Regions from separate parts of the Homo sapiens genome. Here region 1 is linked to region 2. Evidence: promoter capture Hi-C in 16 types of primary human blood cells and fetal thymus (Javierre and others, 2016). All regions are on one chromosome and are shown on one strand. The core of a region is centred on a gene start or on the middle of the fragment in contact, and the rest is flanking DNA. Distances in the headings are between cores, read along the strand shown.

Region 1 (5,228 bases), core at 1,078-3,577, 3.6 Mb after region 2:
CCCACCATGTCCCCTCTGCCACACTGAGAAGAAGGCTATCACCTGTGGGTAACTCTACAGAAGGAATGCATTCTGCACCATCCACCACACACTGAGATGAAAAAGAGTAAAAACTTTTTTGAAATCATCCTTCAGAATTTCCAGGTCACTGGAATTTAAAATCATGGTGATGACCAAGTACTTTCATCAAATATCCATGAAATACCTTAGGCATTTTTCTTAGTACAAATCCTAATACCTTGGCCAGATTTGCCCTTTGAGTGGGTGCGCTTGTTGACTATTTAGTTATTAACTATGAAAGTGGTGTTCTTGCTGTAGGCTCAGACCACTTCCCCACAGTACATTGAGCAAATACCCCCAAATTCCAGGAAGCTGCATGGACTTTCTATAAATGAAAAATCTAAAAAATAATGACAACTGTTGAAGTTGCATTCAGAGCTTACTATTGGTGCTTGACAACTTTTCCAGAAGATCACTGCTACCTTCTGGAAAATTGTAAAACAGAACATGTTGACCAGTGAGTTACAGGGTCTAACTCCAATACCCCTCAGGGACTCACTTCCCAGTTTCAATATTCAGACCCGGGAAGAAAGAGGGCTGTGTAATGACTGCTGCAGTTCAGGCAATTCAGCCTGTATTTGTCTCTCAGTCTTCCCCTTTCTGAGTTTTGGAATATAAATATACAATTAAATTATCTGATTTCTACACATATTGAACACTAAATGTAAGTTACTTGGAGCAATTAAGCATATATCTACTTGGCACTTACCATGCCAGACAGCCTGCTACTGTTTTACAGAAATTATCATTTTTAATCCACAGGACAAGCCCACTAATTTTTTTTCACATGAGAAAACTGAGGTTCTAGTAATTTAAGTGACTTCCTCAAGGTCACCCAATAAGGAAGTAATATAACTGGACACCTGTCTTCACAGCCCATGCTTTCTACTATGACATATTACTTCTGTGAATTTTAAGTTCAAAATGCTGACTTTATGTTTCTTAATCTCAAAACCTTGTTTTCTTTGTTGGTAAAGCTGTAACATCCCCAAGGTCATGGCTAATAATCGACAGTGGTGGGTACTGAATGCTGGATTTGGGGCTCTTTTTCTATATAACATCTTCAAAAGACATTGGACACGTGGTCTTAATCTGCCAATTTTTTCTACCCTCTAGTCTCCTCCCTCTCAAAACTTGGGGATCACCCTGAAAGCACCTTGCTTCTCCCTGACACATATCCCATCCATTAAAAAGACCTGTTAGTTCTACTTTCAAAATATCATTCAAATTCATCACTTCTTTCCAGCTCCAACAACAGCTCTAGGGCTAGTTGCCATTATCCCCCCGTGAGGCTGAGTGATACCCCCTCATCCATTCCTTTTCCTTCCAATCCCCCCAGTAGAGAGGAAGCTTTTGGAAATGCAAATCAGTTTATGGTACCCCATTACTTAAAACCCATCAGAGACTTCCTGTTTCATTTGGGATTACCCCGGTCTTTTCTCACCTGCTTTCCCTCATACTTCTTTGAAAATATCAAGTTCCTTCCCCCTTCAAGGGTTTTATACACACTATTCCTTCTATCTGGAGCACTCTTCTTCATTCAGCTTCAAAGATACTTCCTCATGGGAGATTCCTGTCCCTTTACTCCCATTTAAACTGGGTCCTCCCCTTGCCCTCTACTATGAACTGAGTTGTGTCCCCCAAACATTCATATATTGAAGGCTTAGCCCCCAGTGTGATGATGTTTGGAGATGGGGGCTTTGGGAGATGATTAGGGTTAGATGAGGTCATGAGGGTGGGGCCCTTATGATGGAATCAGTGCCCTTATAAGAAGAGGCCAGAGTGCTGTCTTGTTCTTGTGCTCTCTCTCTCTCTCTCTCTCCCTCTCTCTCTCTCTCTGTATCCCAGTCATGATGTAAGGACACAGCAAGACAGTGCCTGTCTATAAGCCAAAAAGAGAGCCCATACCAGAACCCAACCATGTTGGCATCCTGATCCCAGACTTGCAGCCTCCAGCATTGCAAGACAATAAATTTCTCTGTTTAAACTATCCAATCTATGGTATTTTGTTACAGCAACCTGAGCAAACTAATACACCCTCTTTAGTAGTTTTCCTAGTTAAGATATAGGCTAAACAGCAATAATAAATAGATCAAAAGATACAATGATTTAAATAAGATGAAAATTCATTCTTCTGCCTCATTATAATCCATAGTCCAAGACTATATGGGAAGTTCTACAGTCTACAACTCATGGTTTCTATCTTGCAGTAGAAGGCTGCAGTTTCAGTTATTATCTTCCAGCCAGCAGGAAGCAGGGAAGGACCAAGAGAATATACATGATTCCTTTTTGAGGCACACTCAGGAAGTGATAATAAAATTAATAATAATAATTCTGTTTATTTACCATTGGCCAGAACTTAGTCACTTGGGCAAGTTGCAAAAGATGCTAGATGCTTGGTCATGTTCCTGGCTGAAACTCAGGCGTTCTCTGACTAAAGATGGACAGAATGGAATTGATGAAAAGCGAACAGTCTCTATATTTTCTCTTCACAAGTTGTAACTCAATTAATAGTTACCTATTTATTTGGTTGATAATTTGTTCAATGACTCTCTTCTCTTTTGAACATATGCTTGATAAGGGGGAAACATTATACATACTTGGATCAGCACAATGTTCCCATGCTGGGCACAGTTGCTAGAATACATTGGATGATTCATAAATATTTGATGATTAGATGAATAGGAAATGTGTTCTTTAAGTATCATGCAATCTAATATGTCCACCTTCTGCTAAATAAACTCCTCAGGGGAGAAAGCATATACTCTATATGTGTGGATACAGGCATCTCCAGCCAACCCTGAGGACTCCAATGCTGCTTCCATTCCTTCAGCACCCATTTCTTCCTTAACACCTTCACCTGGGGCTTCTGAACACTCCATTGAAACTTTTTTCTTGGCCAGATCTGTTTCTCAGCCTAGTATTACATCTATTACTACCAATCACTTTCTACTGTTCTTAGAATTCTTTCCACCTTGGTTTTCCCCCTTTTAACAAATGCTACCTTCAAACCCCAAACCAAATAGGCTAGTTACCTTCAAGTTATTTTTTTATCCTTCTTTCATTCCACAATTCATCTTTACTCACTGATTCATCAATTCCTTCTTTCATTCAGCAGCTATTTATATCTGTTCTGTATACTGTGCTAATCAGCAAGAATACAAAATATGTAATATAAGCTTTCCTAAGGAAGCTCAGAGTCTACTTGACTTGAGTATTTTGGAGACAAACTGGAAAATAAACAATTCAAATGCAATGCAATGGGTGCTATAATAGAGATATGTTTAGAAAACTGTGGGAACACAATTATTGAGTACTTACTACTTTTGCCTCATTGGATCTGTTGTTATCCTCAGATCATCCCAACTGTAAAGACAAGGAAACTGAGAATCAGAGTTAAAGAAGATATCCAAGGTTAGACTACCAGGAAGTGAGAAAGCAACTGCTAATTCAATACTATCTGATAACAAACTCACTATCTTTTCCCTCTACAATGCACTAATGTAAATGCTATCTTGCCCTAATGCAAGTTCTCTTAAGATGCCACCTAGTTCTGCCTCTTCTCATCCACAAGAACCCAGCTCAAGCCAGACCCAAATGGCATCCTCAATAGATAAATGTAATGGCTTCCCATGTTCTTTGCTTCAATCTAGAATCCTTGTCAGAACAGCAGACACTACCAGAGGGAAGATAGTGCAGAGGAAAAAAACACCACCTGTGTTTGCCACTTATCCGTTTTATATTGCTGCAAACTACTCCAAAACTCTGTGGAATAAAACAATTTATTATCATTCATAGTTCTGAGTGTTGACTGGGCTCAGCTGGGTGGTTCTTGCTCAGGGTCTCTTGTGCAATTGCAGTTGTTTGCTGGCAGGGACTGGAATCATCAGAAGGTTTCTTTATTTACATTTCTGGTGCTGGGGTAAGACACTGGGGATTGGTCAGATGTCTCATATGGTTGGCTTTTGCTACCTCACAGGACAGCAGTTGCAGGGTAGTTAGATTTTGTACATGTCAGCTGGCTATTCTTAGAATAAGCTCAGTTTTCTTAGCCATAAAATGTTGAAAGCAATGTCTAACTCACTGGGTTGCTATGAGAATTACCTGGAATTGAGTGTATAAAATGCCATGTGGCAGGTAGGCTCTCAGTAAGTGTTAGTTCTCTTTCCCCATCATGTTCCACCCTCATTCCCCAGCAGGTGATAGAACAGGATTTTTAAAAGTTTGTTAAATGAATGAATGAGTGAAACTACGCAATGCATGGAGCTTCCAAAGTAATCATCCAAGACACTATTCATAATGTCATCCTCCTGCTTAAGAATCCGCAGAACCTTTGAGTTGCTAAACAGAACTCTGGGTCCACCAACCTCTGCTATCCATTCCCCATGCCTCCTGCAGGCAAACCTCAAGGGCTCTTCTGACGGCTCCCAGCCCTCCCTCTGACACAGACCGTGGTGCCACAACCTAGTGTATGTTTACAACTGCCCCCTGCTGGCACAGGAGCCAACTGAAAGAGCTCCCAATGGCCAGGGCAGAAGCAATTTAGCAACAGGATAAAGTAGTACTGTATCATAACCCAAAGTATAAATTAAATGTCCATGGGTCCATACTGATATAAATAAGTGATTGAGTAAATTAATGAACGAGGGAAAAGAAACAAATCTCGCGTGAAAAATTCCAAGTGATTTATGTAAATATGTTACCCTCAAGGAAGTGGAGTGTCAATCCCTACTCCTTAACTCTGAGCCACCCATAGTGACTTCTTTCCAAAGAGTGCATTATGAAAAAGGGATTTTTTTAAAGTAGCTTTTCAGTGGAGAAACCTGACAAACGCTACCTCAGCCAGGTAATCAAGGTCAACATCACTTATAAATCATTGCCAGGCATGGCAGCCTGCACCTATATTCCCAGCTACGTAAGAGGCTGGGACAGGAGGATTGCTTGATGCCATGAGTTTGAGGCTGCAAGGCACTATGATCATGCCTGTGAATAGCCACTGCACTCCAGTCTGGGCAGCATAGCAAGATAAAATCTCAAAAAAAAAAAAAAAAAAAACAACTAGTTATGTCACATTTGCAGTGTGCTCCCTTGATATAATGTGATGAGACTTGTACTTTACCTATGTGATCTTTGTCCCAAAAACCTATAAGCCCAGTCTAATCATAAGA
Region 2 (5,077 bases), core at 968-3,467:
GAAACTAAGCTGTATATTCTCTCACACTATAGATGTTTTGTGTGTGTGTAGGATTCCTTTTCAGTCAAATACGCACTTTGTTTTGAAAAGGAAGCGATTTTAAAGTGTATATTTACATTTGTCCCAAGGTAAAACGCTTTGGATGTGAGACTTTCTGATTTACTGAAAATGTTATTTTTGGAAGCTGGCTTATTTTCAGACAATGCAAATTTCCTGTATTTCCTCTAGTTTACTTGGAGAGGAGGATGTAGTGAGCTAAGAGGTCACAATTTAAATTTCACAATATAAGTTTGTCAAAAGGTACTGAGTACCCAGTGTTCTTTTAAAAGATCATTAAGCTAACTTTATATTCAATTTCAATGAGTTCCTTAAATGGTATTTTAGCATACTAAAAACTAGCCCTTTCTCACCCTTGTCAAGGTAGGAGTCATAGTGCCTGCTGCTTCCTGGGTTGTTGGTGCTTCCTGGGAATCCGCTGTTCAAATCGTCATACCGTGGTGGAGCCTTTTTAAAATAAATTTTATATATATATGTGTGTGTGTGCATATATATATGTGTATATATATACGTATATATGTGTGTGTATATATATACGTACATATGTGTATATATGTATAAATATGTGTATATGTGTGTATACGTATATGTGTGTATATATATATTTAGTTTGAAGGCTTATTTAAAATGAAAATAAATTATGAAACTTTTCTGCTCTCAAAGATCTGTTTGGAAGAGTAAGTGTATTCAGTACTTTGTATGCCTTAATGTGTTTTCTATCTTAAACTAGTCTTCACAAGCTTTTACCACTCCAACTGAGATGTATACGTTAAGTTAGACTAATGTTTCAAAAACGGATACTTAAAAGCAACGTACCATAAAAATCTTCAGAAATTGTTACAAAGAAGAGTGAAAGAAAACAAGGTGTTTTACCATATGCATTTTTAAATTTAGCGTAGTGGATACTTTGTTTTAAAAATACATAATTTGTAGAATTACTGCCCAGTTTGTGTTTGAAACATAAATCCTGGGGTGGACGGCATTAAATTGAAAAAAAACGTGGGCATACAGTATATTTTAATTTTTCATACTGAATCGTACATTTGCACTGTGCCTTATTTCTACCGTGTTCTTCCTACTGTTGGACATATAAAAAGATTTTCCTTGGAACTGTGACTTGATTAGATGCTGCAGTATGCTGGATCCGGGTCGGTGGACCGCAGAGCGCTCGAGATGCGGAGAAGCAAAGCTGGCCGCTAGTGGGCGCTGTGGCTCCGTGGAAGTCACGGACGAGCGTCAGCACCGGCGCTCGACCGGGAAAGTAGCGAGGAGTTCCTGCCAGCTCTGCTCTGGGGTCTTGCAGACGCCGAGTGAGAAGCACATGCCTTGACTTTTCCATCTCACACCCTCTAAATCTCTGGTCACTTTGGGAAGCGCGCGTGTCTCCTAGAGGCTAGTGAGACGGTCCCCGCGTCGTGCCTGTGCCGGCGACACGCGGGGAAAGCTCCAGGGGCGCCACCTTCCCGGGGGGCCAGGAGGGAAGGGAGACGCCCGCAGAGAAGGCGGGAGGCGACGATGCTCAGGCCCTGATTAGAGCTGCAAATTCCGGCGCCGCGTCGCAGGAATCGTCTTGCAATTCCCGGCCCCACTGACTGAAACTGAGCCGTAGGCGATTGGTACCAAAATCAAGTGAGAAGCCCTCGCCGAGAGGCGTCGGGAGAAGCGCGCAGAAGCCGGGAGCTCTAAGGGTGCGCGCGGAGTGCAAGTCTTGCACGCGGGGCAGCGCCGCATCTGCGGAGAAGGGACGCCGAGCGGAGCCTGCTGCCTTCCGCACTGCTCGAGGGAAAGCCGCGCCCTCTGATTCCGCCGAGGGGGAAGGCGCCCCCGGGCGCGGAGACAGGTGGCCCGCTACTCGGCCGTCGCTGTTTCCACGTCTGCACCGCGCCCAGAAGGCCTCTCGCCGCCCCGGGGGCGCCCTGTGCACGCGCTGAGCGCTTCTCCTGCCCGGCTTCTGCTCCGCTCCCGCCGCCCGCGGGAGCCAGGGGCGGGGCTCACCTGTCAGCCCGAGCCCCGCCTCGCGGCACCCAATGTCGGGAGGGGATGGCGGACGGACGGACCGGCCGTCCAACCAGCGCGCGGCCGCGGAGCCGCGGGCCAATGGGCTTCGCGCGGCGGGGCGGGGCCCCGCGTTTATAGCGCTCTGACAGCGCGGCGGCCGCGCTGACTCTCCTCGGCGGGGACCGCGGCGCCGGCCGGAGCGAGGAGCTGCGCACGCAGCGGGTCCCGGCGCCCTCCCCGCACACAAAGGCCCGCGCGCGTCCGGAGCCCGCGGCGGGGACCGAGCTCCCTCTTTCCTGCCCTGGGGGCCGGGAGCCGCGCGGACTGAGAAGGCTCCTGCGCGCCCGGAGGCGCCCTACTCCGCTCCGTGCTCCGGGACATGGAACCGCGCCGACGCGGCGCCCGCGCGCTCGGGCCGCTGCCCGCTGCACTGGATCTATAGTCACAGGCGGCCCCGCTCGGGGCGCAGCGCCCGCCGCCCGCGCCGGTCGTCTCCGCTCCGGGTCTTTGTGTCCCAGCCCGCACCCGCCCCGCGCCCACCCGCCAGCCGCGGCCGGCCCGGCACCCTGGAGCCGCACGGGAGTCGGCCGTCCGAGCTGCGTCCGGCGCGGCGCCCCGGAACCCCGAGTCCGCCGCGCCGCCGCGCCCCGCGCGTGCGCTCCCGCCCCGCGCCCTGAGGGCCCCGGAGAGCGAGCGCACCTGGCCCGGCGACCGCTGGAGCTGCGCAGCGCGCCTCGGAGCTGCCTGCGGGCGCACGCCGTCTTCCCCGCCAGTCTGCCCCGGAGGATTGGGGGTCCCAGCCTGCGTCCCGTCAGTCCCTTCTTGGCCCGGAGTGCGCGGAGCTGGGAGTGGCTTCGCCATGGCTGTGAGAAGGGACTCCGTGTGGAAGTACTGCTGGGGTGTTTTGATGGTTTTATGCAGAACTGCGATTTCCAAATCGATAGTTTTAGAGCCTATCTATTGGAATTCCTCGAACTCCAAGTAAGTGGCGTCCGCGATCCCCCTATGTCCCCGCCCCGGGGTCCGCCGCGCCGTCCGGGCGGGAGGAGGGGTCAGTCCGCGGGGCCTCGGAGCCTGTTTCTGGAACCTCGGTTCCCCGTCCCCCACCCCCAACCCCCGCCCCATTTCACTAGGTGGAGACTCCTCGCTCGGCTTTCCAACCCGAGCCCCGCTGGAACGGACGGTCTCTCCGCCTTTCCTCCCCCGAACGCTCCCAGGCGCTAAAAGCTACTATCGGCTCGGGTGTCAAGTCCGGGAAGGTGTCCGATGGCGATACCTGACCCTCTCCTGTTTTCGAGGACGAAGGACATGGCCACAATCTAGGCTGGCCGGCACGCGGGGACTGGTGGGCTCTGGAGAGAGGCGGAGATGCTGCATTCGCGGGGAGCGCGGGCGGCGTGGTCCGGGGCCCGCGGGCGGGCGACCGGGGTGGCAGGACGCTGGCAGCGAAGCGCGTTCTGGAGAGGGGAGCCTGGAGTCGCTACGCTGCCCGCAGAGCCCTGGAGCCGGGGCGCCTTGGCACCGCGCCGCCAGCCCGAGGGTGCGCGGGGAGCTCGCCTGCTTCGCAGGAGAACTCGGGCGTCGAGCCCTTTCCTCCGCGCCGGGGAGACGGGCCTTAGGCTTCTCCCTGAGGGCCCGCCGCACCTCGGCCTCCCGCTTCGTTCATAAGCCGGTAGCCCCGGAGTATGCGGTCTCGATGGCCGACCTGATTGTAATGCACTTCCTATAAAAGCTTAGGGCCCTGCCCAGTCGACACTGCTCCTGAAGCCTTCTCCCTCGGGACCCTGGTAGGAATGGGATCCTTAGGATCAGATTTGCTCTTACCGGACTCTACAGCCGGGAGCGAGCCAGGCCTTGTGGAGAGTAACTTTCAGTTTGGGCCACCAGAGTGCATTCAGAATTTAGAAAATCCCATCCATCCCTAAATCTGTGTGGTCATAACTCGTAGTCATCTGGGTATTCAGTACTGTGTATCCCCTTATTTCGAATCACAGCCAAAACATATTTTACAGAATCTTGGAATTGTAGTCTCGGGAAACTTGGAGAAGAAGTATGCAGACATTAGCTGGTTTCTGGAGAAAACGTTTGAGATCAGAAGCAAAATCAATGGCCTAATTGAAGTTGAGCAAGTTGGGCCTGGTTTTAGGAGAAAAGAAATGGGGGATTGATTTAGAAATCACGTCTTAAAGGAGTGTGTCCATTCTCTTAAAAGTGTCAAATTTCAAATTCACTAACATGTTAACCAAGAATCCCTTCATGAAAAGGGCGAAAACGTCGGTTACAAATCGGTTTAAACAAATGTTTGTATGATGCTAGAAGGCACTTTCAACACCGCTCATACGGAGAAGTTACTTAGCTCTGCCTCCTTCCATGTAGTCTGCTCTTGCATGGATTATATTTTTAATGTAAATTGTTGTATTTGCTGATGAAGTACTGGCGGCGGCATCTTTGCATCGATGCCGGCTCGGGAGGCGCCAGGTGGTGCCGGAAGGAGCCGGGCTAGGACCTCGCGCAGCAGCGGGTCCCGGAGTCCGGGAGAGGCGGGCGGGCGGGCGAGGCGGTCGCGGGGAGCCCGCGGCGCCGCTGCCCGCCCGGTGCCTCCAGAGGTCACTCTTCCATGCGGAATCGCGCAGCGCCAGGCCTCGCCCCTCCCCCAGGCCGCCTGCTCCAGCCACTCTGCACTTTCACTGACCGGTTCTCTTTGAGGCTGTTTTTTTTTTTCTTATGAGGATTTAATATTTCTGTTTAAATCTAGTTGAAAGCAATTCCGTTAGCCTCTTCAGCGTTTAGTTCGGTGTGTGTATCTTTATCTTTGCGCTATATTAACTATTAGTTTGTGTGTATCCGGTAGGAGAATTAGAAATACCTAGTTGGGAGAAAAAGAAAAGTAGAACAATAGTTATTTCAACCTAAGGTTTAGACGTTAATAACTTCTTTTTGTAATGTGTCGAGATGGGGGGTCCTGGGGGGAGGTGACAGGTACTCACCACTCCCCCCCCCCATTCTGATGATGAAGATGAGT

The links. The method cuts DNA at HindIII sites, captures the fragments that hold promoters and counts their contacts. A CHiCAGO score of 5 or more calls a contact.
Region 1: a fragment that was not itself captured here is called in contact with the fragment with the promoter of EFNB2 in region 2 in 1 of 17 cell types (total B cells); the score reaches 7.3 in total B cells.

The regions. Positions count from the first base shown.
Region 1 is chr13:102,939,642-102,944,869 of GRCh38, reverse strand. No RefSeq gene overlaps it. Among named protein-coding and RNA genes, the nearest start is that of ERCC5, 96 kb to the right of the region's middle. The HindIII fragment of the contact is 1,829 bases long and covers 1,413-3,241 here.
Region 2 is chr13:106,532,802-106,537,878 of GRCh38, reverse strand. It overlaps EFNB2 (ephrin B2), which reads left to right and starts at 2,217. Exons shown (of 5, transcript NM_004093.4): 1 at 2,217-3,036. The coding sequence starts at 2,915. RefSeq lists an enhancer at 1,120-1,189 and silencers at 1,770-2,429, 4,559-4,658, 4,719-4,778. The HindIII fragment of the contact is 2,990 bases long and covers 800-3,789 here.